Regions from separate parts of the Homo sapiens genome. Here all the other regions are linked to region 3. The links are contacts of gene promoters, found by promoter capture Hi-C in blood cells and fetal thymus (Javierre and others, 2016). All regions are on one chromosome and are shown on one strand. The core of a region is centred on a gene start or on the middle of the fragment in contact, and the rest is flanking DNA. Distances in the headings are between cores, read along the strand shown.

What was found. The method cuts DNA at HindIII sites, captures the fragments that hold promoters and counts their contacts. A CHiCAGO score of 5 or more calls a contact.
Region 1: a contact is called between a fragment that was not itself captured here and the fragment with the promoter of SIRPA in region 3, in 1 of 17 cell types (monocytes). The highest score is 7.3, in monocytes.
Region 2: a contact is called between a fragment that was not itself captured here and the fragment with the promoter of SIRPA in region 3, in 1 of 17 cell types (neutrophils). The highest score is 5.2, in neutrophils.
Region 4: a contact is called between the fragment with the promoter of SIRPB1 here and the fragment with the promoter of SIRPA in region 3, in 5 of 17 cell types (neutrophils, monocytes, M0 macrophages and 2 more). The highest score is 17.1, in neutrophils.
Region 5: a contact is called between a fragment that was not itself captured here and the fragment with the promoter of SIRPA in region 3, in 2 of 17 cell types (monocytes and neutrophils). The highest score is 6.8, in monocytes.
Region 6: a fragment that was not itself captured here is called in contact with the fragment with the promoter of SIRPA in region 3 in 1 of 17 cell types (monocytes); the score reaches 5.2 in monocytes.

Annotation. Positions count from the first base shown.
Region 1 is chr20:1,482,709-1,486,911 of GRCh38, forward strand. The region is part of intron 1 of SIRPB2 (signal regulatory protein beta 2); the gene reads right to left. Among named protein-coding and RNA genes, the nearest start is that of SIRPB2, 6.6 kb to the right of the region's middle. The HindIII fragment of the contact is 1,559 bases long and covers 1,659-3,217 here.
Region 2 is chr20:1,460,096-1,464,981 of GRCh38, forward strand. NSFL1C (NSFL1 cofactor) reads right to left here. Exons shown (of 9, transcript NM_016143.5): 2 at 4,234-4,331. Among named protein-coding and RNA genes, the nearest start is that of NSFL1C, 4.3 kb to the right of the region's middle. The HindIII fragment of the contact is 1,220 bases long and covers 1,749-2,968 here.
Region 3 is chr20:1,893,355-1,898,071 of GRCh38, forward strand. SIRPA (signal regulatory protein alpha) reads left to right here and starts at 2,053. Exons shown (of 8, transcript NM_001040023.2): 1 at 2,053-2,172. The coding sequence starts at 2,094. It overlaps LOC102724545 (a long non-coding RNA gene), which reads right to left and starts at 896. Exons shown (of 4, transcript NR_186374.1): 1 at 765-896. RefSeq lists silencers at 1,017-1,276, 1,287-1,406 and an enhancer at 2,698-3,213. The HindIII fragment of the contact is 10,599 bases long and covers 140-4,717 here.
Region 4 is chr20:1,618,691-1,623,088 of GRCh38, forward strand. It overlaps SIRPB1 (signal regulatory protein beta 1), which reads right to left and starts at 1,319. Exons shown (of 6, transcript NM_006065.5): 1 at 1,179-1,319. The coding sequence starts at 1,254. The HindIII fragment of the contact is 7,240 bases long and covers 1-4,398 here.
Region 5 is chr20:1,532,595-1,536,810 of GRCh38, forward strand. It overlaps SIRPD (signal regulatory protein delta), which reads right to left. Exons shown (of 4, transcript NM_178460.3): 4 at 1,657-1,847. The coding sequence ends at 1,831. All of the region lies in intron 2 of LOC105372499 (a long non-coding RNA gene), which reads left to right. Among named protein-coding and RNA genes, the nearest start is that of SIRPD, 23 kb to the right of the region's middle. The HindIII fragment of the contact is 7,989 bases long and covers 1-4,216 here.
Region 6 is chr20:1,512,302-1,516,656 of GRCh38, forward strand. LOC105372499 (a long non-coding RNA gene) reads left to right here and starts at 260. Exons shown (of 4, transcript XR_001754464.2): 1 at 260-494; 2 at 1,050-1,208. LOC105372498 (a long non-coding RNA gene) reads right to left here. Exons shown (of 3, transcript XR_937198.3): 2 at 3,781-3,861; 3 at 3,286-3,366. The HindIII fragment of the contact is 9,029 bases long and covers 1-4,355 here.

The DNA.
Region 1 (4,203 bases), core at 1,188-3,687, 410 kb before region 3:
ACTTAACATAATAATCTCCAGTTCCATCCGTGTTGCTGTGAATGACTACATGATTTCATTATTTTTTTTTCACGGTTGAATAGTATTCCATTGTGGGTGTGCTTGGGGACACTATATATATGTATTTTTTTTATCAATTCATCCATTGATTGACGCTTAGATTGATTCCATACATTTGCAATTGTGAATATTGCTGCAATAAACGTAGAAATGCATGCACTCCTTTGATATATTGATTTCTTTTCCTGTAGATAAATACCTGTTCTAGGATTGCTGGATCATATGGCAGTTCTATTTTTAGATTTTTGAGAAATCTCCATACTGTTTTCCATAGTGGCTGTACTAATTTACATTCCCACCAATAGTGTATAAGAGTTCCCTTTTCTCCTCATCCTCATCATTTTTTTTTTTTTTTTGAGAGGGAGTCTTGCTCTGTCACCCAGGCTCGAGTGCAGTGGCACCATCTCAGCTCACTGCAACCTCCGCCTCCTGGGGTCAAGTGATTCTCCTGCCTCAGGCTCCTGAGTAGCTGGGATTACAGGCACATGACACTACACTTGGCTAATGTTTGTATTTTTAGTAGGGACAGAATTTCACCATGTTGGTCAGGCTGGTCTCGAACCCCTGACCTCAGGTGATCTGCCCACCTCAGCCTCCCATAGTGCTGGGATTACAGGCACGAGCCACAGCACCTGGCCTTTTTTTGGGTCTTTTTAACAATAGCCATTCTAACTGGGATAAGACGATATCTCATTATGGTTTTGATTTGCATTTCCCTGATGAGTGATGTTGAGCATATTTTTTCATATACCTCTAGGCCATTTGTATGTCTTCTTTGGGAAATGTTTATTCATTCCTTTCCTTTGCTCATTTTTAATTAGATTATTTATTTGTTTGTTTGCTTTTTTAACTGTTGAATTGTTTGAGTTCCTTGTATATTCCAGATATTAGTCCCTTGTCAAATGGGTACTTTGTGAATATTATCTCTCATTCAGGAGGTTGTCTCTTCACTCTTTTGATTATTTTTCTGCAGTGCAGAAGCTTTTTAGTTTAATATAGTCCCATTTGTCTTTTTTTTGCCTTTGTTGCCTGTCTTTCGAAGTCTTAGCCACAAAACCTTTGCCTAGAGCAATGTCTTGGAGTGTTTTCTGATTTCTTTGTATTGTTTTTCAGAATTATCTTGTATCTTACTGATCTTCCTTAGTATCGATATTTTGTGTTCTTTTTCTGGGATTTTGTAAATTTCTTCTTGATTGGGATGTGTATTGGTATAATAGACCAAGGGCATAGAATACATAGACCAATGGTATAATAGACCAATGGCACAGAATAGAAAACACAGAAATAAATCCATGTATTTACAGCCAATTGATTTTTGGCAAAGGTATCAAGAATACACATTCAATAAATGGTGCTGGAAAAACTGGATATCCATATGCAGAAGAATAAAGGTAGACTGCTATTTCTCACCATATACCAAAATCAACTAAAGATGAATTAAAGATCTAACTGTAGGACCTAAAACTATAAAAACTACTAGGAGAAAACAGGGAAGGGACTCCAGGACACTGGTATAGGTAAAGATTTTATGACTAAGACCTCAAAAGGGTCAGGCAACTAAGACAAAAATAGACAAATGGGACTATATTAAACTAAAAAGCTTCTTCATAACAAAAGCAACTATCAACACAGTGAAGAGACAAACTCTTGAATGAGAGAAAATATTTGCAAAGTACTCACCTGACAGGGGACTAATCTAATATCCAAAATATACAGGAAACTCAAACAACTCAACAGTTAAAAAAAATCTCATTAAAAAGTGGGCAAAGGACATGAATCAACATCTCTCAAAAGAAGACATACAAATGGCCAACAGGCACATGAAAAAATGCTCAACATTACTAATCATCGGGGAAATGCAAATCAAAACCACAATGAGATATCATCTTACCCCAGTTGGAACGACTGTTAAAAAGGCAACAATAAAAAAAAAAAACAAAATAAATAAACAAACCACCACAAATATATGCTGGTAAGGTTGCAAAGAAAAGGAAACTTTATACATGGTTGGTGGGAATGTAAATTAGTACAGCCACTATGAAAAACAGTATGGAGACTTCTCAACAAACTAAAAATAGAAATGCCATATCACCCAGCAATACCACTACTGGATGGCCAGTATGGAATACTATTTGGCTATAAAAACAAATGAAATTCTGTCATTCGTAGCAACATGAATGAAGATGGAGTTCATTATGTTAAGTGAAATAAGCCAGGCACAGAAAGACAAACATCACATGTTTTCACTCATACGTGGAAGCTAAAAAAATTGATCTCATGAAAGCAGAGGGTAGAATGATACCAGACGTGGGGAAAAGTGAGTGTAGGGAGAGGGGCATGAGAGAGATTTGTTAATGGGTACAAACATACAGTTAGATAGAAGGAATAAGATCCTGCCATTTGATATCAGAGTATGGTAACTGTAGTTAACAACAATGTATTGTAGATTTCAAAATAGCTTGAAGAGAGGACTTAAAATGTTCCTAACACAGATAAATGAAAAATACATGAGGTGATGGATATCCTAAATACTTTGACTCATTTATTACACATCCTATGCATGGAACAAAGTATTACATGAACCCCATAAATATGTACAAATGTTATGTATCGATTAAAAAAGAAAAATTGGAAAATATTTTGAACTGAAGGAAAATGAAAACATAATATAAAAATTTGCGGGATTCTGTTAAAGCAAGGGGAAGTTTGTAGTATTAAATGCCTATATTTGGAAAGAAGAAAGGACTCAAATAAATTACCCACTTTCCACCTTAAGAAACTAGAAAAAAAGGCCAATAAACTAAACTCAAAGTAGTGAAAGAAAGGAAATCATCAAGCTGGAAATGAAACTTAATACAGTAGAACACACACACACACACACACACCACACACACACACACACACAGAAAAAATCAATGAGAAGAAGAAAATCTTTGAGAAGATCACTAAAACTGATAAATCTCTAGTCAGATTGAACAGAGGGGACACACACAGAAAGAACCTAAATTATTAAAATAAGGAATAAGATTGGTGATACTACTACAGATTTTACTCTTATTAATAGAATAATAAAAGAATATTATGGAAAACTTCAAGTCATACATATTTGACAAATTAGGTAACATGAACAAATTCCTTGAAAAAGATACACTGCCAAAGCTTTCTCAAGAAGAAAAAGACAACCTGGTTAGCCCTATTATCTATTAAAAAGTTCAATCTGTTATTAAAAATCTTCCCAGAAATAAAGGTCCAATCCAAGAAAGTTTCATTTGTGAATTTTCCATATCTTTTTCTTTTCTTTTCTTTTCTTTTTTTTTTTTTTGAGACAGGGCCTCACTCTGTCACCCAGGCTGGAATATGGTGGCGTGATCTCAGCTCACTCCAACCTCTGCCTCCCAGGTTCAAGCGATTCTCCTGCCTCAGCCTCCTGAGTAGCTGAGATTACAGGCATGCACCACCATGCCCGGCTAATTTTTATATTTTTGGTAGAGGCAGGGTTTCGCCATGTTAGCCAGGCTGGTCTTGAACTCCTGGCCTCAAGTGATTCGCCTGCCTCAGCCTCCAAAACTGCTGGGATTGCAGGCATGAGTCACCATGCCCAGCCAAATTTTCCATATCTTTAAGAAAGAGATAATACCAATTTTATACAAATACTTTTAGAAAATTGAAAAAAGGAGCATACTTTTCTAATTATTCTATGAGTCCCAGTGTTATCTTGAAACCGAAGCCTTTTCCTTTCGAGAAAGGAAAATCAATATCTCTCATGAACATAGATAAAAAATTTTACACAAAATTTTAGTAAACCGAATTCAGCAATCAGCAATATTTAGAAAGTATAATACATTATAATCAAATTGAGCTTATCCCTGGAATATAAAGTTGGTTTAACATTCAAAAATCAATCAATGTAATTTACCATATTACTAAACTAACACACACACACACGCATATACATGCACTCATATAATCATCTCAACAGAATGCAGAAAAAGCAGTTTTCAAACTTGAACATGCATTCCTAATAATAACTCTCAGCAAACTGGGAAGACAAGGAAGGTTTTTCAAGTTGATAAGGGGCACCTGTGAAAACCCTACAACAACTCTATCAAGCTTAGTGGTGCAAAAATCAATGTTTTCCCTGCA
Region 2 (4,886 bases), core at 1,109-3,608, 430 kb before region 3:
CTATTTAAATTCTCAAAGCCTTCATTTTCTCACATGTAAATAAGACAATCACAGCACCAACCTATGGGCTTTCTGTGTGCAGGTGGGGTACTGATGCACGGAAAGTCTTTTGCATGGTGTGGCACATTTAAGTACTACTCTTGAGTAGCAGTTCTCAAAGTGTGGTCATGGACCAGGAGCATCAGCATTACAGTGAACCTGTCAGAAATGCAAATCCCCAGGCCCCCTCTTAATTCTCCTGAATCAGAGCCTCTGGAAGGGGTATCCAGCAATCTAGCCTTAAGGAGCCCCTGAGGTAATTCCGACATATATTCAAGTTCAGAACCACTGTCTGGAGTAATGCTTTCAGTTACCTTATGGCATGGATGTCCTAGGGATATTAGCAATTGCACAATACTTTTGTCCTATGGTCTCTACAAATTGGCTAAATATCTCAGAAAGTTCAATTTTTCAATATTAGAACTATCTCCCAGGCTACTCTGGCATACTGAAGTGGCACAAAACTCCTTCATCAGATGACATTTTCTGCTTTTAATCCGGTTACCCTAGCTCTGCCTCTCTGTGATGATGGAAATGCTCTATCTGCACTGTCCAACAGAGAAGCCACTAGCCACATTTGGCTATTAAGCATCTGAAATGTGGTTAGAGAAAACGAGTAACAATGTTTGTTTAATTTCAATTAATTTAAATAGCTAGTAGCTACCTTGTTGGATCGTGTAATTTTAGAGAATCAGACAATCGTAGTTCCCGGAAGTTTAAAGTACAACTTTTGCTGGATGAAAGAGGGGAAAAAAGGAAGAAACTGTTACCTCTTGCTTGACCCTGCATACAGGGGTGGGAGGTGCTGGCAGGGAGGTAGCATGTGGCAGCAGAAGCAGCTTTGGACTTAGGCAGACTTCGCCTTGAATCTGTGGTAACAGCAGCTGTAAGTTACTTGACCTTTCTAAGAATTAGCATCCTGACCAGCGAAATGGTAAGCACCTTACCTATTTCAAAGCTGTTGAACAGTATCAGAAGAGAACACAGGTGAGAAACATGGCAGAGCTTTGGTGACTGCTCCTGAAATACTAGCCGTCCCACTTCCAGGAATTTACAATTTACTTGGGGAGAAAAATTAAGTTAAATATCAGGAAAAGAGTTCAGGGCAATGTGGGAGAGATGCCACCCAGTAGTACATGGATATAGTCAAAGAACTGAAGGAGTGATAGTTGTGACTGGAGTTCTGTGGAACAGAATTATGGCGTGCAGCCTGGTCACAGGGTTAGCAATAACACGCTCAGCAGAGTGGGGATGGAGGTAAACATGGAAGGATGCATGGGATTTGTATAGGCAGAAAGCAAGAGAGCGGGCACACCTGATCAGGTGAGAGGCTCAAACAAAAGCAGGAGAACCAAAAATAAGGAAGAATTAGAGCACCAAAGAAATCAGTTTGGTTGGAACAAAGGATTTAAGAAATGAGGAAAAGGGAATCAGATTAGGAAGGTGGGTCCAAGGGTAAACTCTGGAGGACTTTGAATGTCCACAAGAAGAGGCAGAACATTGTTGGGGCTGAGAGCTGAAATGCTGAATGTAGAAAACAGCCCTACACTTAAATCCTTGTTTTACTAGCTCTGTGATCTTGGAAAGATACCCAACTTCAGTGTCCTCATCTGTAAAATAGGAATAGTACTAACCTCAGTGCTAACAGTACTAACAACAGTACTAACCTCACAGGGTTGCTGTGAGGACTAAAAAGATGTTCATGTAAAAGCTTAACTCAGTGCCTCACTCGTAAATACTCAATAAATGGCAGCTGTTATTACTGAGTTTAAACTGTCTCCTATAGCAATGGTTAACATTTTTATGTCTGTCAGCCCTTTGAGAATCTCATAAAAGCCATGGACTCTCTTGCCACAAAAGATACCTGCTAACATGTACACAAACTTTTGCCTGTAATTTCAGGTATTAATAGAGACCTTCTCACGCTCATTTCATAGATTCCTCCTAGGGTTCTCGGGCTCCATATTAAGAATCCTTATTCTAGAGTTGGGTGTTGCTCTGAGGCAGCAGTGACAACATAAAAGGGTATGTGAGAAGTCAAAAGTGGGGGATGGGAGAGGGCAGCAGCTGGCTAAGTGTCCTGCAACTGCCAGGTCAAAGCAGAGGCAGGCCCCACACAGAATTCCTCTGAGGTGCTAGCACAAGTTTGGTTTTTCCTGAGAATGTAGTCCTAGCATTTGCTTTCCTCCTCAACAAGGACAAACCATGCAACACACTGCGCCCTCCTCCCTCCCTTTTTCTTGTCTTCAGTTCTTTTCTAAGCCTACTACCAAGTCTGAGCCTTAACCAGAGCAATAAAGCAATGCCTCTTGGACCAAATGTGCGTCCAGTCTTTTTACTCACTTCAGTTCTAATGTTAAACTCTATGTCCTTGATTCTTTTACTTTTATGCCTTTTTTTTTTTTGAGACAGAGTCTTGCTCTGTCGCCCAGGCTGGAGTGCAGTGGCGCAATCTCGACTCACTGCAAGCTCCGCCCCCCGGGTTCACGCCATTCTCCTGCCTCAGCCTCCCGGGTAGCTGGGATGACAGGCTCCTGCCACCACACCTGGCTAATTTTTTTTGTATTTTTAGTAGAGACGGGGTTTCACCATGTTAGCCAGGATGGTCTCAATCTCCTGACCTCGTGATCCACCAGTCTCGGCCTCCCAAAGTGCTGGGATTACAGGTGTGAGCCACCGCGCCTGGCCACTTTTATGCCTATTCTTAAATGTACATACTTGTTGGGGAATAGAGTAAACAAAACAGGTCAATTGAGAATGAATGCTAAAAATGATAATACTAAAATTATAATAACAACACATGCTGTGTTCTATTTGCTTTGTAAGTATTAACTCATTCAGTCTCCCATGTGGTAGGCACTATCATTACCATTTGACAGGCGAGGAAAATGAGGAACTGAAACGTTAAGTAACCTGCCCAAGGTCACAAAGCTTTTACTTAAGTGGCAGAGCTGGGATTTGAACCAACGCAGTCAGGCTCCTGGGCCCATGCTAATAAACCACTGCCTTAATAGAACTTTGGGATTACTGGAGAAAAGAAAGGAGTAAACATGTAACTGGCATTAGAGACTAAGTTTAAATCTCTCCCCCTCTATAATTCTGACATGCCAACATCCCAACAACACCCTAAGGTGGCTGTCAAAGACTCATACCCCAGAAAATCAGCCATCTCTACTAGCAGCTGCAAGAACAGCACTTACCCTAACAACATGTCCCAAGCAGTAATACCCAGATGTGCCATCACCAACATCTCATAGGTTAGCACGTGCAAACAGTTACAAGATCACTTTCCTCCTACCTCTTTTCTCTGGATGGGAGTTAGGGAAAGAAGAAAGCAATGAGATCTGGGGTTAGTGCTCCTTCTTCGAAGGGAGGAAATATATTTTAAACCTCAGTTGCCTTTAGAGAGAAACATAATTTACCACTTCATGGCAAAGAAACACTGTTGGTTATATTCTGGGGTTGAATTCAAACCCAAATAAAATTTCCTGGCTAAAACATACACTAGAGAGTAGAAGCAATAAGGCGAAAGCAGAGAGGGGAGACACCTCTGCTTACACACTCTCTGTAAAGGTTCAGACACCTTTACAGGAAGCACCCCTGCCTGTCTCCTGGAAGACCAGCATTGTCTCACTCTGCAGAGCACAGGAGTAATCTGCTGTGGGTGCTGTGGGAGGCAGCGACAGGGGATGCAAATGGGATTGCAAAGGTTAACACTGTTTTACCTAGTAAGACAAGGTCTCCCTAATCAACTTGGCAAAGGGTGGGTTACACAGGTTTATTTTGTACAAGACTTCTTAATAAGGTAACGGGCATCCTAAAATATCAAAACAGCTTTCCTAAGTCATTTCGCCTAAACTTTCACATCTATAGCACCCTTGAAAGGAAGTTTTTTGGCTTTTACTTAAAAACTTTAGAGTTGCAGTGGTCATTCCTCATACTACATAAGTAAAAGTCTTAAAAGTAGGTTTGTGGTTTCCCCCAGGATTGAACCATAAACCACACCCAGTTAAAAGTCATGCATCTCTGTATAGGAAATGACTGAGGCCTGCTGGGAAGTACTACCCATTGACTCAGTCTAACCTTCTCATTCAGACCTGGTCCACACACCCAGGCCTGAACGCTCTGGTCAGAAAATAGCTCCTCTTCACTGCTGGAAACACTCATGTAGCGATAATTGAAGCTGGCCCTTACCTGGGGGCTGTGCCTCTGGACACTGAACTGGGGGTTGCCTGCGAAATGGTCACAATGTCTTCATCCCCTCCGTCCTCATAAAAGCTCGCTAGCGCGATCTGAAACAGAGAGGTAGTACCTTGGGACCCTTAAACAGGCCTTCACCTAACGCACATCTCCTTTGAGCACAAAGGAATACAGACATGGCCAACACTTACAAGGTAGCTTGCATCCATGGGCCAAAGAAAATTAGACCAGAAGGTTAACAGCTCAGCTGTTAGTCTTCGTGTCAACTGAAACAAATTCCACCCACTAAGGTGAAAAGAAGGCAGTAAGAATGGCTGGGGTGGAAGACACTCTTTATTCTCATTTTATGAAGAAACGTGATCTAGTAAAAGTAGCACACATTTAGTGAGCATTTACATGCCAGGTTGTTCTGAGCATTCTACATACGTTAATTTGTTTAATCCTCAAGAACTCTATGCTATTAGTACTCTTATCATCTCATTTTATAGTTGATACAGAAGCACTGAGGATTAAAAAAAAATTTGTTCAAGTTTACACAACTGGTAAAGAGAGGAGCCAGGTTCCATCCCTGCTAGTGTGCTTAGGCCCTCACTCTTAAGCGCTTCCAGTACAGCCCGGAGTCAGGAACTGTGGAGTCAGTCCAGGTT
Region 3 (4,717 bases), core at 803-3,302:
TGGCACCTTCCCTGCCCCCCTGCACAACAGCAGGGCCATGCCTTCACCAGGAGGCTCGGGGCAGGAGGGGAGGCAGTGGTGTTACTTTGCACAGGTCTTTAACCTGGGAATCAGGAATTCAAATCTTGTTTCTACCCCAAGCTTTGCTGTGTGGCCTTAAGCAAACCTATTCCCTCTCCGGGCCTCAACTTTCTGTCCATTTACAGGGTTGGGCCTTCTCTCACCTTGTGTCATTCCTGTCCTCTTAACCGCCACTGTGTGAACCAAAATTCTCTCCCATTAGCAGCGGGGTCTTGAACTTGTGTTCCTCCCACAGTGCGGAGCCTTCTGCCAGGTGACCACGACACTGGCACTCCCCATCACTGACCTGGCTACTACAGGAACGGCGTTCCCTCCGGGAAAACCGGGGTTCTGTCCTCTCCAACTCCAGGCCTCTGGCCCCGGCTCCCCTTCCCCTCATCTTCCTCAGGGCTTGTCCTTCTCCCGGAACCCAGGCCTTCAGGGCCCCGCTCTCCCACACACGCCCCGGCCTGGGCCTCCCACCCGCCCAGTCCGCCCTCCACCACCGAGACACCTGGCCAGGGGGCCTCCACCTCCCTGGGAAGGCCCCGACCCTTCCCCTCTGGTTGCGCGCCACAGCCCCCTTCTCGCTCCCTCTCCTCCCCGCGCCTCTTTTCCAGGCGGCACCGAAGTCCTTCCTACACACACGCTATTTTTGTACCATCATCTCTTCTTCCTCTCCCCTTCCCCCTGCGTTCACTTACTTCCTTCTTTTCCTTCACCTCGGCCCGGCTCTGAAAGGATCGGGCCCCTCCGGCCCGCACCCACCCCCAAGAGGGGCCTTCAGCTTTGGGGCTCAGAGGCACGACCTCCTGGGGAGGGTTAAAAGGCAGACGCCCCCCCGCCCCCCGCGCCCCCGCGCCCCGACTCCTTCGCCGCCTCCAGCCTCTCGCCAGTGGGAAGCGGGGAGCAGCCGCGCGGCCGGAGTCCGGAGGCGAGGGGAGGTCGGCCGCAACTTCCCCGGTCCACCTTAAGAGGACGATGTAGCCAGCTCGCAGCGCTGACCTTAGAAAAACAAGTTTGCGCAAAGTGGAGCGGGGACCCGGCCTCTGGGCAGCCCCGGCGGCGCTTCCAGTGCCTTCCAGCCCTCGCGGGCGGCGCAGGTCCGGGCCCGGCAGGGACGGGGAGGGGCAGAGCGGGACCGGTCGGGGCTGGGGACCAGCCGCGCGGGCTTCTGAACGGGCACGCTGTCGGAGCCGGAGGCTCGTCTAGTCCCGAGCCCCAGCGGGCCGCGGCGGCTCGCGGGGCCGCCTTCCCGGGACAGCAGCCGGGGCCCGGGCGCCGGCGCGGGGGAGGACGCTGCCCTCCCCGGCCGGGCGCGCAGCTCGCAGCCCTCGCTCCCTCCCCCGGGGCGCGCAGGCGGGCGCTCGCTCGCAGAGAAGGTGCCGGCGGGGCCGGAGCCCCGAAGCCTCCCCGGGCGGCGGGAAGACGGGAGGAGGGGAAAGGGAAGGAGGGAGGGGGTCGGGCTGCCGGGAGGGCGGGGGCAGCGGCCGGGACTGCGGGCCGGGAGCGAGCCCAGCCGCCCGCGCCGTGTGGAGCCCGGGCGGGGCAGGTGGGCAGCGGCGGGGGCGGCTCCGCGCGGCCGGGCTCGGCCGTGCTGCCCCTCGCCCCTGCTCGCGCGGTCCTCTCTCCCGCGCGGTCTGTCGGTCTGCGCGCCGCCTCGCTCCTCGCTCCTCGCTCTCCCCCTCTTTCTCCCCCTCTCGCCTCTCCGTGTCTCTGGCTCTCTGCCTGGCTCCCTTGGGTCTGTTTCTCTCTCCTGCCGCCTCTCTCTGGCCGCCCCTGGCTTTATTTCTCGCGCGCTTGGGGTCTCTCCCAGTCTCCGTCTCTCCATTTCTCCTGGGGGGCGGGGAGGGGGGGTCTCCAAAAACCGCGGCGGCGGCGGCGGCCGCTCCAGGCGCCCGTTCCGGAGTCGGGGGGAGGCCCAGCCGGGAGGGGGGAAGGGGGGGAGCCTTAGTCATTTCCCCGCTCCAGCCTGCTCCCGCCCGAGCGCGCACTCACGGCCGCTCTCCCTCCTCGCTCCGCAGCCGCGGCCCATGGAGCCCGCCGGCCCGGCCCCCGGCCGCCTCGGGCCGCTGCTCTGCCTGCTGCTCGCCGCGTCCTGCGCCTGGTCAGGTAAGCACCCCCCCGCTCCCCACCGCTGCACTCCCCAAACTGCGGGCTCAGGCCTCTCAGACTGGCACTGGGACCCCTTCGGCTAATGCCGAGCAGTAATAGGGGGAGAGACGCCTGTAACCAGGGTTATAGATGCAGAAACTGAGGCCCAGAGAGGGCCAGCGACATGCCCAAGGTCACACAGCCAAGGGTAGAACCCAAGTCTCTTCTATGAGAGTTTGTCTCTGTGGACTCTGACTCTGTGCACTGTGCTGGGCACTGAGACAAAAGAGCCGAGTTGCTTCACTCAGCCCCTGCCCGGTCCAATGGGGAAGGCTGACTGACAGTGGCTTTCAGAGCAGGGCCGTCCGGCTTCCCCAGAATCTGTCCCCATGGACATACGACTTTCCACATGTTTGACTTCAGGGTGTGAGGGGAGGAGGTGAGGGCAGAGGTCCTCCCGATGCTGCCTGGAATGGAACAGAGACAAGCTGTTGCAATTAGGGAAGAGTGAGCCCTCCCTCTGGTGCGCAGAGTAAACCGGTGTTAGTGTGTGCCTGGGAGAGAGGGAGCCGGGAGGCCGCGGTAACCCCAGAGCGAGCTGCTGCGAGCAACAGATCCTTATGTAAAAACACGGTGGATTGTCCCTGTGGTTGCCAAAGCCTCTCCCTGGTGGTCTTGCTCCTTGAGGCGCTCCCAGCTCCCCCTTCCTCCTGCCTTCCCCGAGCTTCCAGGCAGCTCCCTGCAGTTCAGGTGCTCCGCGGGGATGTTACCTGTGGCTCTGACCATGTCTTTCTGTTGGCCTACATCAAACACCTGGCTGTCGCCGGCAGGCGGGCTCTGAAGGCTACTGTGCATGTTCACCAAAGGGTGAGGTCACCATTCAGGAGTCTTGCTTCTTAAATGGGTTTTGCAAAACCATGGGTCTCCTGGGAGGGCACCGGGTGGGGGGCGGGGGGAGCAGAGAAATGGCATTAAGGGAGTTGGGAGGGAGAGAAAAATGGGGATCTTGTTTTTTGTCGTCTTGAAACTGTGTTGTAGGCAGTGGGGTCTCTCTGTACCTCCCACCCTTGAGGAGGGAGGTAAAGATGAGCTCAGTGTCCAACACCCCCTTTTGCGTTTGACTAGAGATGGTAACCATCTGATAGCAGGGAGAAAGGGAGAACTAGCAAAGAGTGGGTGGAAGGAGAAGTATGGGGGGTAGACAGCTGCTTCTCTCTGCCCTGCAGTTTCCCCTGAAACCCAGGAATTCACATAGGCATCCCCCCACCCCACCCCACCCTCCACCCCCAGTTCTTTTCAGTTATAGTTGCGTCCTTGCTGGGCTGAAGGGAGCACTGATACAGTTCACGTCTCTCCAGTGAGTGGCATCTCCTATCTGCTCCTTCCTGCCTGAGCTGGCCATTTGTACCCTGCAAAAGTCCGAGTTCCTGCCCTGCCATCCTTCCTGGCCTGGAAATGCACAAGTGTCACTCACAAGTGCTTAATTTTCCTGAAGCAGGGAATTGGGCCCGAGTTAATTTCTAAATGTCTATTCCAGACCCTTCTCCGACCAGGAGGCTGTGGTTCAGTCCCTGGCAAACGAGCAGTGACGCTGATTAGCAAGTGCTCCGATGGGCAGCCTGCCTTTCCTGGGGCACCGGCTGGGAACACCAACACCTTTCTTGTGAGCACATCTCCCCCTTTTGCCTATAAAAACAGTCTATAAGATGGTAAAGATTGGGCCATAAAACTTCCGTTCCAATCCATTCAGCATCAATAGCCTGAAAAAGTGGGAGCAGCAGAGGGGCCAAGATTAGCTTTGAAATAAATAAATCTTAGGAGGTAAGAATGAATTTCTTGGTCGAGGGTGGTGGGGAAGGGATGAGGTGCGACCATCATAGCTCAAGTCTCCCATTATCCTTCAGTATCTGTTCTTCGGGGTCCTGGTCACACCATGGGCCTGGGCAGGGAAGTCACCTGGTTTGGCTGAAGGATGGGGCCTCAGGCCCCTCCCCCTATTGCTCCAGACATGGAATTTACAACAAAGAAGTAGAGAGACAGGATATGAGGGTAGGAAGGTACAAGGAGGCAGTTGTCCAATTTTCTAAGAAAATGGATTTGTTCGAGTGAGAAACTAAAATGTCAGGTTTAGGAAGGCGGCTTTGGATTGAATGACTACTAGTGTCTCAGGCAGAACTGTCAGCCTGGGAGGTGTCACATGATTCCTGTGTCTTCACATGATCACTGTTTTGGGGGGGTGGGGCCAATCATGTGAATTATCCTGGGTGGGGGAGGCAAGAGAAGAAGTTTCTAAAGATTGCTTTTAGCACAAATGCTGCCAAAGGGAAATTCTAAAAAGATCCCAGTGAAGTCACCAACCTATGTTTTTGGACCCAATGTGAGGCCTGTTTCCTAAAACAACTGCACTGAGGGAGATTCTGAGGCTGGGAGAAGGGCAAGGGACTGAGGCCTGGGGACACCTGGCACCTGATTTTGTGTCAGCAGGGCCTGACGCTGAACCCGCAGGATGCCTGCTTGGCCCCAGGTAGGCCTTGAGACCTCTGAGTCACCCCCCAGGCCGACC
Region 4 (4,398 bases), core at 69-2,568, 280 kb before region 3:
CCTGTGGTTCTGGGGTCAGCTCCATGGCCTGAGAAGGGATCAGGACAGGTAACTTGTCTGGGAGCTGTGAGCAGGGTTCTCCCAGGCTGCACCAGGAAAGGCCCTCCAATCCTGCCTGTCTTGGGAAGGGGAAAGAAATTATCCATGGGAAATTTAAGAGAACCAAAGGAGGTTGTAGTACCTGTTATGGGCTGAATGTGTCCCACAAAATGCATGTGTTGAAGCTCTAATCCCCAGCACCTCTGAACGTTACAGTTTGGGAGACAGGGTCTTTAAGAAGTAATTTAGTTAAATGAGGTCATTGGGGTGGGCCTTAATACAACAAGACTGATATTCTCATAAGAAGAGGAGATGAGGACACAGACACACACAGAGGAAGATCATGTGTTTAAGACACAGAGAGAAAATGGCCCTGTATAAGCCAAGGAGAGAGACTTCAGTAGAAACTAACCCTGCTGACACCTTGATCTTGGACTTCAGCCTCCTTAACTGCAAGGAAGTAAATATCTGTAGTTTCAGCCACCCAGCCTGCAGTTCTTTGTTATGGAAGCCCTAGGAAAGGAATATAGGACCCAGTAAGCAGCAAATGTGGAACTTCTTAAAGAGGAAGAGGCCACAGAGAAATGGGTGGTAAGAATCAGGTCACAGGGGAGGGAGGAGCATGGGGGAACAGAGGACAAAGTGAGGAGCACCCTTAGGGAGGATGGTGGCTGAACACTCCCAGGATACACCACACCACTGCCCTACTCAAGTGAGCACTATTACAGACTTCACATCCTCAGTTTGGTGAAGAGAGAGGGCTGGGCCTAGAGCCACATAACCCTGTTAGGGTGTCTCTGAGCTTACTCTGTGGACTTGGGCATGTCACTTGGCCCTAGGGCCTCAGGACTGGTGAGGATTTAGATAATGATTCTTCTCTGCTTTTTCAATTGAAATATTATCAAAATGTAAGTAATTGTTGTTGTGGTGGTTGAATCGTCCTGTGGTTCAATGCCTCTGGTAGCCAGCTGCAGATCCACAGAGAAAGTGCTCAGCTCCCTGATTTTCTGCTCTCAGTCAAAGCCTAATCCTTGGCCTTTCTTGGCAGCACTTGTCATTGTCCGGAATCCCTGAAAGTCCAGGGACAGGCCATGGCTCAGTGGGCAGGAAAAAAGATTTTAACCGAAGGCAGTGCTCACCTGTGAGTCTCCCCAGCAGTAGCGTCATCAGCAGGAAAGGACTAGGAAGGTGGGGCCAGGAGGCTGGCACGGGCATTCTGGAGACCTTAGGAGCCTGCTCTGTCCAAACGTCTGTGCTGGGAAGATCGCAGACTCTGCTCTGAGGAGAGAAGACAAGCCCTGCCTCCCTTAGTTCAAGAGGAAGTGGCTGCGATGGAGTGAAGCAGTAACCTGCTTCTGGATTGTGAAACAGAAATCAGGAACAGCAAGCAGCTACAATGCAAGCAGTTATGCATGCCCCATTTCAGGAGAATCAGACAGGCTTAGCAGAAATAATGCTTCCTTCCCACCTGAGGTCTTAACTCCTTCCATGACTCCTAACCCCATCTTTATGTCTTCTTGGTGATTTGCCATTTGGTGCTCTTAAGCCAGGAAGGACCTGTGGTTATGAAATGTTTCCTAAACTTTCCATCTCAAGACCTCAGGATGTGGTTGGCTTGTGGTCTCATTCTACAACAGCCTCAACCAAGTGCTACTCAGTTGGGGCAGGATGAGGGATCACTGGACCTGCTCAGTGTTGGAGAGGAACAGGTCTGCTCTTGAAATGGTTCCCTATTCCGAACTTTTATAAATATAAATGGCAAAACTTAGCCCAAATTCAGTCTCATGTGGCCGTTAGCACTTTCATATGCCTGCACCCAGCAGAAGGAATTATTTCCTGACTTCTTCCAGGAGAGGAAGTGGGCTTAGGGTAATAAGGATCTGCTTTGTGAGGTGAGGTGGGGATTATGGGTTATGGAAAGGGGATATGTTTATTATGGGGGAGAATATGGAGGGCAGATTCCTGGAGCAGTCACATCGATTTCAATACTCTTTGCTCTGCACATAGAACACCTATTCCATTCATCACTGTCTTCAGATGGGAACTGAGGAGGGAGGGAGAATAAATACCCTAAGAAGATGTGCTAAGGAGTTGGGGAAGTTACTGGGCCTGCCTAGGTTCAGTTTTGCCTTCTAACCTTGGGATAATAAGTCTCACTGCCATGTTTTAGTGAACATCAAAAGAGATAATGACTATACATCCCTGAGATTCAGTAGGTTATTATTGATACTCATGGTGCCAGGTGAAGAGAGGGAACTCAAATATTGCTTTTAAATGGATTTCTACTGCATGCTGAGTTTCCCACCAGTGGCCTTCTCCCATGTTCCCCGGACTTCTGGAACCCAGCTTTTATGGTGTACTTGGTCTACCTCTGACACTCTGAGATCAATTTCTCCCTCTGGATCCTCTTCACCCTGCTTTTTGTCAATCTGTAGATGAATTCCTTTTCTTACAATCTCCAGCTGTGTGACTTTCAACAAGACACTTGACTTCTCTAAGCCTTAACTTAATTACATGTAAATGGAAGTTATAACATGCACCTTGTAGTGATATGGTAAGAGTAATATAAGCCATACAGAAGGTTTGATTCATATTTAATTATAACCAAAAAATTGTGGCTATAATTACATTTGTGTACAGGGTGAGTTCACTGCTTCCCTGACATACTTGTGCTTTAGAAAAATTTCCTTGGTAGGAGAAATGGTTTCTCCTCCATCATCTGTGACTAAGAAAGACCTGTCTGGAAACCTCTCTTTCCCATGCTGGGCTTGCAATCCTTCACCTATCATGAGTAATTGTCAAATGAAATTGTAAAAGTCATCACATTTCCATGCAAATTTCTTTTTCAATGTGGCAGATGCACAGAGGGTGAAATCATCACCTCCTGCTCCACACTCACAGAAATGAATATAAAAATGATAAAATCATGTTAATCGATGCCAAATTACACTTTAAAACAAGAAACTAGTCTCTATATGACATGAAGGGTAGTAGCTGCTGTGTTTACTGCAGATGTCCTGTGCTCCAGGTACTGTGCCAAGCATTTTGTCAGTTACCTCATTAATTCATCACTCTGGTCCCATGAAATTAGCACTACCATTAACCTTTTTTTATAGGTGAGGAAACTTGAGGCACGCAGGCAATAATACATTTGTTCAACATCACCCAGCTTTTAGAACTAGAACACAGGTTGTCACACTCCATGGCCTTCACTATGACACCTCTCATAAGAAGGGAGAGATATCTCTCAGGAAGGAAGCAGAGAAGAAGCCATAACGTCAATTAGGCGCAGCCTCCACAGCAAGGTTGGGATAGGTGCCATGTTCCATAAAGTGCTGACAGCCCATGATCACTCAGGGCATTATTCCTGTAAAGATTACAGTGAAAGCAGTAATCACTAAAGATTTGGGGAAAAGCGACATCATAATAAATTCAAAAACAATAACTAAAAAACAAAAACAGCAATGAAAATAACATCTTAGAAAATAATACCTCAGAAAATAAAAATATAAAATGTGAAAATATTTTTAACATTAACATATTTAGTAACCTTATAGAGATAATGAAAAGAAAGTAAATCCATAAAACAAAGTCACGTGTGAAACAAGAATAGGTAGGTGTGCAGTAACAACAGGTATCTGAGAAAAGTAATAAAAAGAAGAATTTTGAAAAAATATAATTAGTGCTAAATTGTTTAAAAAACAAATAGGTGGATGTATTAATCTGTTCTTTCTATAATTGTTATAATGAAATACCTGAGACTGAGACTGGGTAATTGATAAAGAGAAGAGGTTTAATTGGCTGATGGTTTCAGAGGCTTTACAGGAAGCATAATGCTGGTATCAGCTTCTGGGAGGTCACAGGAAACTTACAAAAATGGCAAAAGGTGAAGGGGAAGTGAGCATATTTACACGACCAGAGCAGGAGGGAGAGAGAGAGTAGGGAGGTGCCACACATTTTAAAACCACCAGATCTCATGAGAACTCACTCATCATCATGAGAACAGCACCAAGAGGGAAATCTGACCCAAAGACCCAGCCAACTTCCACCAGGTCCTACCTCCAACACTGGGGGTTACAATTCAACATGAGATTTTGGTGGTGGCACAGATCTAAACCTTATCATTTTCTCCTGCCCACTTTCAAATATTATGTCCTTATCACATTGCAAATACAATCATACCTTCCCAGAAGTCCCCCAAAGTCTTAACTCATTTCAGTATTAAGTCAAAAGTCCAAAGTCTTATCTGAGACAAGGCAAGTGCCTTCCACCTATAAGCCTGTAAAATTAAAAATAAGTCAGTTACTTCCAAGATACAATGGGGTATAGGCATTGGCTTTAGCCATCTGAATGGGAATA
Region 5 (4,216 bases), core at 948-3,447, 360 kb before region 3:
AGTTTAATTGGTTGTAATATCCTGAGTATTAATGATGTATAGTAATATAATAATTATTATACAGCAGGCACTCTTCTAAGTGTTTTCCATTTATAAGCCCATTCACATTTATAATTCTTATAACAAATCTGTGAAGTGGATACTATTGTTATCCCTACCTTAAACACAAGGGAATTGAGGCACAGAGAATTTAACATTTTGAATTAAGAATCTTAATTAAGAATTAAGGTCACATAGGCTGGGCATGGTGGCTCATGCCTGTAATCCCAGCCCTTTGGGAGGCCGAGGTGGGAGGATCACTTGAGGTCAGGAGTTCGAGACCAGGCTGGCCAACGTGGCGTAATCAGGTCTCTACTAAAAAAAATCCAAAAAAATTAGCCGGGCATGATGGTACATGCCTATAATCCCAGCTACTCAAGAGGCTGTGGCACGAGAATCACGTGAACCTGGGAGGCAGAGGTTGCAGTGAGCTGGGATCACGCCACTGCACTCCAGCCTGGGCAACACAGAGAGACCTTGTAAAAAAAAAAAATAGAATTAATGTCACATAGCATGTAAATGGCAGAGCAAGAAGTTGATCCCAGGCCATCTGGCGCTGTAGTCTACTTTTACCCACTGTGCTTTGTGGGCCTTTGGAAGCTGTAAGATTCTAAAGAGTTAGGAGTCTACTGATAGATGGCGCTGGGGTTACATTTCACCCTGTTCCTTCACTGTGACCTCTCACTATCCCCATCTTCTATTCATAATCTTGGCACAAGGGCTAACAAAGGGGGAGCCTTAGGCTAGGCTCCCAGGGATTGTAATTTGTTTTAGAACAATGCGCTGGATTTCTAGGGATCTGTACTCCACCATGCACAAACATCTGGGTGCCTTGTCCAGACTTAATCTTCATGTAGGCTTCCTTTCTGGAATTTCACACAGTAGTAGGTGCCGGCTCTGCTGGTGTGATGCTTCTGATACAGATGGAATAGTTTGTGCTCTTTCTATTTGTGATGTCTGAAACAGTTCTTATCCAGGGGAAGTTGCCTTCTTTTTGACTGTAGATTAATTCCCGGCCTGGTCCAGCTCCTCTGAACCACTGGATGGGCCCTACGGGGATCAGGGAGGTCACAGTGCAGTGTAGAGTGGCCGCTTCTCCAGCTGCGACTGACACGGACTTCTCAGGCTGAATTACCCGCAGCTCCTCCTCACCCGCCACTCCTGGAAGAACACACGTCAGCTCCAAGCTCCAGCTGGGGATGAGGCTGCGGTCCAGGTGCCTGGGTTCAGATTGCATTTGAAGCCCCATTCATTCTTTCTTTCCATATCATGTATTAGCTTTTAGGATGGGCACATTCCTTAACTGGGTATCAAGAGAGACATAGAGACAAGATAGACAGACAGCCCTTGCTAAGGACACAGTCAGGAAGTCAAAAGAGAAGAAATACTTCTAGAAAAGATGTTCAACAACACCAGTAATCCAGTGAAGTGCATAGTTAAACCACACACAAATTGCTAACGTCCATGACAGACTAGCTGGAAAAGTTTTTAAAAAAAATGTACGCAGGTTTCAGCATATGAAAGTTAGAGCACATTTTCAGGCTGCAATAAATAGTAGAGGCAGGTTGGTACCAAGGCAAGCAGAGAGGTCGATGAAACAGAAGAGAGAACCTGGAATTGGACCCAGGTAAATAGACAGATTTATTGTACGATCAAGCTGGCATTTTATGTCAGTGGAAGAAAGCTCTCTTGAAGAAGGCAAATGAAACTCCTAAAAAGTAGCTGTCTCCAGGGAGTCAGAAGAGTATGGGGGCTTTTGTTATTTACTTGTACGTTCCTTCCCTGTTTGGATTATTTTGACAGCAAGCCTGAAATACAATAAAAATAAAATAAAATAAAACATTTCTCCCTCCTGCAAGCTAAGAGCAGACACAATTTTTAGAATATTAGCTTAGCAAACATGAAAAAGATTGCCAATTTTCTGTGTTGCTAAGGTTGTGGTGAGGCAGGCGCTCCCACATACTGCTGGTGGGAATAACAATGGACACGATCTCTCTAGATGGCAATACAGCATCACAGTCATGATCTTATGATCTATGTCCACGTGACAAACCCATATTTAAACAAGTAAAGTGGAGATACTTTAACCAAATCTGTTTTGGTCCCAAATGTTCAAAATACCCCCTGTCCATTGCTGCTGCTTCTGTGCTGGGTGTGGTGAGATAATATATTACTGATATTGAGACACTCACGTTTCATTGGGAAATGGCTTTTGAAACCAAAAAACACTTTTGAAATGCAATTTCCCAATAAAACTCATACCCTTTGATTTAGTAATTCCTCTTTGACGGCCTTATTCAAAAGAAACAATCAGACAAGGGTGAATATGATTTGTAAAGGAATGGTAATCATAGTATTTACAATATAGAAAAGTTTGATGCATGGCCCATGTCCAAGAATAGGAGTGAGTTAGATAAATGATGGTACAACCACAAAATGGAAAACTATGTAGAGATTGAAATGATAGTGTTGATGTATATATTGGGGATGTATTGATGATGTTGCAGACACATATATATTTACATAGAAAAGGGTCCCCAATTTATCATTGAGTAAAAGAACAAATAAACCACCATATTTTGTGTAATCTTATTTTTGTTAAAAGTTCGATGTATCTAGAAGCAGCACAGTGAAGAGGTCAAAGTAAGAGCTAGTGGAGTCCCATTGACCCAGGTTTCAATGCCTCCTCTATTGCTTGATTGCTATAGTTTAAATATTTGTCCCCTCCAAAATTCATGTTGAAATTCAATCCTCAATGTGCAGTATTGAGAGGTAGGGTCTTTAAGAGGTGATTGGGTCATAAGGACTCTGCGTTATTTCACAAATTAGTGGATTAATGGGTTATCATGGGAGGGGAACTGTTGGTTTTATAAGAAGAGAGAGAGAGACCCAAGTATAGTATGCTAGCATGCTCAGTCCCCTCACCATGTGATACCCTGTGCTGCCTCAGGACTCTTTAGAGAGTCCCCACCAGCAAGAAAGCTCTCACCAAATATGGCCCCTTGACCTTGAACATCTCAGCCTTTACAACTATAAGAAATAGGTTCTTTTTCTTTATAAATAATCCAGTTTCATGTATTCTATTCTAAGCAACAGAAAAAGGACTGACATTGGTGTTTTACTTTGCGAAAATAACCTCCCTGAGGCTCTGTTTTCTTATCTATGTAATGTATACAATGTGGAAAGTAAAACTTCCTCTTGCAATTTTGTTGTGATACTGAAACCTGAAAATCTTTGAGAAACACTCAGGACTGTGCTCATAGAAGGACTTCTGTGAAATGGGCTTTCCATTCTTAACTGCAAGTCCAGTAGGCCAGGCTCCAGCCCTGACAACCTGGTGATTCTAGGAAGCGCACACCATTGCTTGGCTTTCAGTTCCTTCTTCTACCAAGCCTGATGGACCTTTCTCAGTTCCCATGACTTCTGTGAGTTCTAAGTGAAGACATAGACTTGCCAAAGACACAGAGTGAGAGTTGCAATGGCCGGATGCAGCAGGACTATTTTCGTGGGCTCATATTTGCACTTATTAAGCCCTAAAAGGCTGTAACAACCAGAGCTCACATAGGTGGTTCTGTGTGCTACACATTACTCCAAAAACTTAACTATATTAATTAACTAGTTTGATTCTCACCACAACTGTATTGGAAAGGCATTATTATTTATCCCGATTTCACAGACAAGAAAACAGAGGCACAGAGAAGTTGAGTAACTTATCCATAGTCAAACAGCCTACAAATGATGAAACTTGCATTTGAACCCCGGCCTGTCGTTTTTTTTTTTTTTTTTAATGCCTGTGCTTTTAACCACTTTATTAGTTGGACTCTAAATTGAGATGTTAACACCACTGGGAGAAGAATGGTTGCCTCTCCTGACTGTGCAGATCATCTTTGGAGAGAAGAGAGTAGACAGGCAGGAGAAACACCCGCATCAAGAACGTAATCCTAGGTTTCTGAGATTCTGGGAGACTTACTAGTCTAAAAAGGACCATTTAGCAATTTTTTCTAATAGTTCTACATTGCATGTGTAGTACTTGTTGTTATCTATCTACCTATCTATCTATCTAATCTATCTATTAATCACCTATGCATCCATGTGTACTCATCTTAATGACAGCATCCCTGTCTCCCTCCTGGGGACCAAGGGGTCAAATGCTGCTCCTCTACTTCTTCTCTCAGGA
Region 6 (4,355 bases), core at 1,448-3,947, 380 kb before region 3:
GATTTGGGGACATCCTCTATGTCCTTTTTGAAGTATGATTGGGGGAATGAGGAACTAGCTAAAGTTTTTGAGAAAATGTTACATGTATATATCACACACACACACACGTTTTTGAGACAGGGTCTTGCTCTGTCCCTCAGGCTGGAGTGCAATGGCGCCATCACAGCTCACTGTAGACTCTTCCTCTTGGGCTCAAGTGATTCTCACATTTCAGCCTCCTGAGTACTTAACAGGTATGTGTTATCACACCCAGCTAATTAAAAAAAATTTTTTTTTGTAGAGACCAAGTCTCATTACGTTGCCAAGGCAATATATACCCAGGTCTTGAATTCTTGTTCTCAAGTGGTCTTCCTGCCTTGCACCCCCAAAGTATTAGGGTAACATGTGTGAGTCACTGGAACCCCAAGAAAATGTTTTAAGAGGCCATTTTGATGTAAAGGATGGATGCGAGGCTCCAGAGCAAGACCTGGAAGGAGGCTGTTGGAGTGACCTAGGTAAGTATTGACAAGGGTCTGGGTGACCATGCAGATGAACAGGAGAGGACAGGATTAATGAGACTTGGAAACTTAGGGCACCTAGGGCACAAAATGTAGAGACAAGATGTATTAGTCCATTCTTATGCTGCTAATAAAGACAACCCGAGACTGTAATTTATAAGGAAAGAGGTTTAATTGACTTACAGTTCAGCATGGCTGGGAAGGCCTCAGGAAACTTACAGTCAAGGCAGAAGAGAAAGCAAACATGTCCTTCTTCACATGACAGCAGCAAGGAGAAGTGCAGAGTGAAGGTGGGGGAAACCCCTTATAAAATCATCAGGTCTCGTGAGAACTCACTCACTATCATGAAAATAGCATGAAGGTAACTACCACCATGATTCAATTCAATCACTTCCCACCAGGTCCCTCCCATGATACATGGGGATTATGGCAACTACAATTCAAGATGAGATTTGGGTGGGGATACAGCCAAACCATATCACAAGGTGTTATACATGCTGACACTGCGCTTGCTCAGGCCTCAGAATGAGTGTCTTACTTTTTGTTTCCTAGGAACTTTGCCTCATCCTAGTCCTGGCTCTGCTTCAAGGGGGAGGTAAATTATAATTCTTGTTTCATGATACCCTCATCATTGAAGAAGGCCAAGACATCCTCAAGGTCCTCAACATTGGAGCCCAGGAATGGGAATATTGAAGCTGAAGCACCTCTATTGTGAGTAGAAAATTTTGAAAAGGAGATGCATATCTGAGGGAGAATATCTCTGTTTCTGTGACTATAAAGGTTCAAAGTCACAGTAAAACTACATAATAAAAATAGAGCAGGATGTTTATCTCCTCTGGGCATACTTACCCTTTTACAAAAAGCCTTTTCTGTAAAAGGCTTTTCTGGACTACGTCATCTTCCAAAGTCTTCACAGGGCCATTTTGGTGCTTATAATGAACCCTCGATCTACTCCAGGGACACATTTCAAACCTGGGAAAGGGCACACATGTGTTCTTCCCTTTCCCTCACCACCCATAGGCATCAGGTTGGCTTTACTGTAGAACCGTTGGCCTGACAGGCCAGGAAGCAATAGATTGAGGATGGGTGAAGATCACCCATCTGTGTCTAGAATGCTGGGCAATGTGGCTCCTTGGAAAGCAGTGACAAGAGTTGGGTTTGAATCTGGATTTCTTGGTTCTACCACTTGTTATCTAAGTGACATTGGGCAGGTCCCCTCATCTGCAAAATGGAGCATGGTGCCCACCTTGTAAGACTGGTATGAGGATGAAATGAGATAAAACCACACATGAAGTCCCAGGCCCATGGTGGCACCCAGTAACTGTTTTTCTTCCTTATATGGAACTGTAGAATGTCACAATAGGAAGGGAACTTGGGGTTCTCTAGATAATGTCCCTCCATTTATTTTTTTCCTTTGAATCTTAAGTACACAGAATTGTACCTATCATAATTCATGTTGCATGATACTATAATTATTGACAATGCATGACCCTTTTTATTAATTTGTTTACCTACCCCTTCATCTATATAGCTGCCCTTTGGTCATTTGTTCACCCATCTGTCTACCCATCCATCCATCCGTCCATCTGTCCATCCATTCATCCATCCATCCATCTATCTTCCCTCACTCCCTCTCTCCCTTCCAATCAACCATGCATCTATCTATTTACCTGCATACCTATATCAATTTTATATTGTTAATCTGTCCATTTAAAAAAAATCTTAATATAAACATTTGTGAAGCCACCATCCATCATGAAAGCTAGAACCTTCACGATAATTTCCACCTATCTTTATGTACCCCAAATTCTCATCCTTCTGCCCTCCTACATCCAAGGTCACTGCTATTTTTAATCTTGTGTTCATTGTTCCTTTTAAAAAATGGGTTTCATTGTATTTCTATGTATTCCTAAAAACTAATGTTAGCTGTTTTCAGCTTTATTAAAAGACCATCATTTTTCATGAAATCTCTGGGACTTACTTACCCCCATCAATATTGTATTACTAAAATTTATCCATGTTACTGTGTGCGGCTGTAGTTAATTAATTTTGCTTTCTATAGAATATCCCATTCTGTGAGTGTACTAAGTTTATCACACATTGTACTGCAGATGGGCATTTGGATTGTTCTCAGGTTTTGCTAATTTTAAACAATGTCTCCATGTACATATTTGTACATATCTCCTGGTGCACATGTGCAAGTTTCTTTTGAGTGTAACCTGAGAGTGGAAGTGCCAGGTTATAGGGTATGTGAGTGTTTAACACAACAAAATTTTCCAATCTGTTTCCCAAAACAGCTGTGTCCATTTATGTGCCCACTAGCAATGCAAAAAAGATCCAGTGGCTTCTTTACTTTTGCTATTTGAACAGGGACAAAATGACATCTCAGTGTGGTTTTGCCGTGGCTTTTCCTGATTACTAATGAGGTTGGCCATTTCTTCATATGTTTATTGGCCATAAGTGTTTCATTTAACTCAGTTTTAATGATGGGGCTGTAGAGGTTTCATGGCAGAGCTTGGGTTTCATGGCAGAGCAATGGGCTTTCCTTGATGAGCCAGGAAGGAGCCATCAGAAATGCAGGCATCTATTTTCCTCAGGGTTGGAGCCTATCCTGCCTCTGCTGGGTTTCCTGGTCAGTATCATGGACTCTGAGGTCAGACTTGCCACAGAAAATTCATTCCTGGGTAAGGCATGAGAATCTCCCTCTCACTGTTGACCTTTCCAGTCTAGGTGCTCCCTTCCTCTGGTGGCTGCAGGAGACAGGGAGGGATGGCCAGTGCTGTTCAGGTCTCAGAAGGCTGATGAGGCAAGAGAAGCTGAGGGAGCAGCTACAGACATCATGGCAGGTCCTCCTCTAAGTCCAGTCCTCCTAAATAAGACAGGAGGGACTGAGGGTCCTATGTCACTGTGGAGGACTGCCTTTGCGGGGTCTATGACCTGTAGAGGAAGCAGGGGCTGAGGCACAGCCCATGATTTTCTCACACCTCTCCTTAGAGTCTACCTCAAGGGTGCTGTCTTCATACCAGCTCTCTCTGTTTCTTCCTCCTTAAGTGCCCCCTCTCCTGCCCTGACCAGGGAACCTGCCTCTTTGTACATCCTCAGGCTGAATGAGAGACAGAGGAAGGTCAAGGGGATAGCGGTGCAACTCTCGGGGACCCTATGGATCAACACCCATTCAAGGTACAGGAGAAATGGGAGGGCTCCACAGCCTTCTTCTCACAGTGCCCCTGTCAGCTGGAGTCCCACCCTTGGGAGCCTAATCCCATCTAGGGTCCCCCCTTACCTGGAAGAAAGGCTCCTCCTAAGGACACAGATGGCAGAAAGTTCCAGCAAAGGAGCAGGAAGGAGTTGCACACAGGGGTACCTGGTGACAGAACAATGTCAGGATGAGGCTAGATCCTGTTTCCACTAGACCCCCAAGCAGGCTCAGCCCCACCCCTGACTCAGGTCCCAAGACTATACCCTGGTCTTGGGGAGAGTCACCTCACCTATATAAGCCTCAGTTTCCTTCATCTGTAAAGTGGGGATTATAACACGCATTTCAGAATGTTTTTGTATCAAATGGGAGCACCCAAAGTACCTAATAGGTGCTCAGTAATTGTTAAATCTGAATGGCTTTTGGAGGATGGGTGGGAACTGGGGAAAGATATTTCAGATTAGCTTAGTTATTCAAAGGAGTATCTGGTAAAATGAGTGGGTGGTCAGGATTCAGCTGATGAAAGCAGCACTTACTGCAATTTGGTACTGGAGACGTAATGCTCTAAAGAGGTTGCCATAATTGCTGTTCCATTTTATAGATAATTCAGAAAGAGGTGAAGTGACTTTTCCAAGGTCACACATGGTGAGAACAGCAAAGCC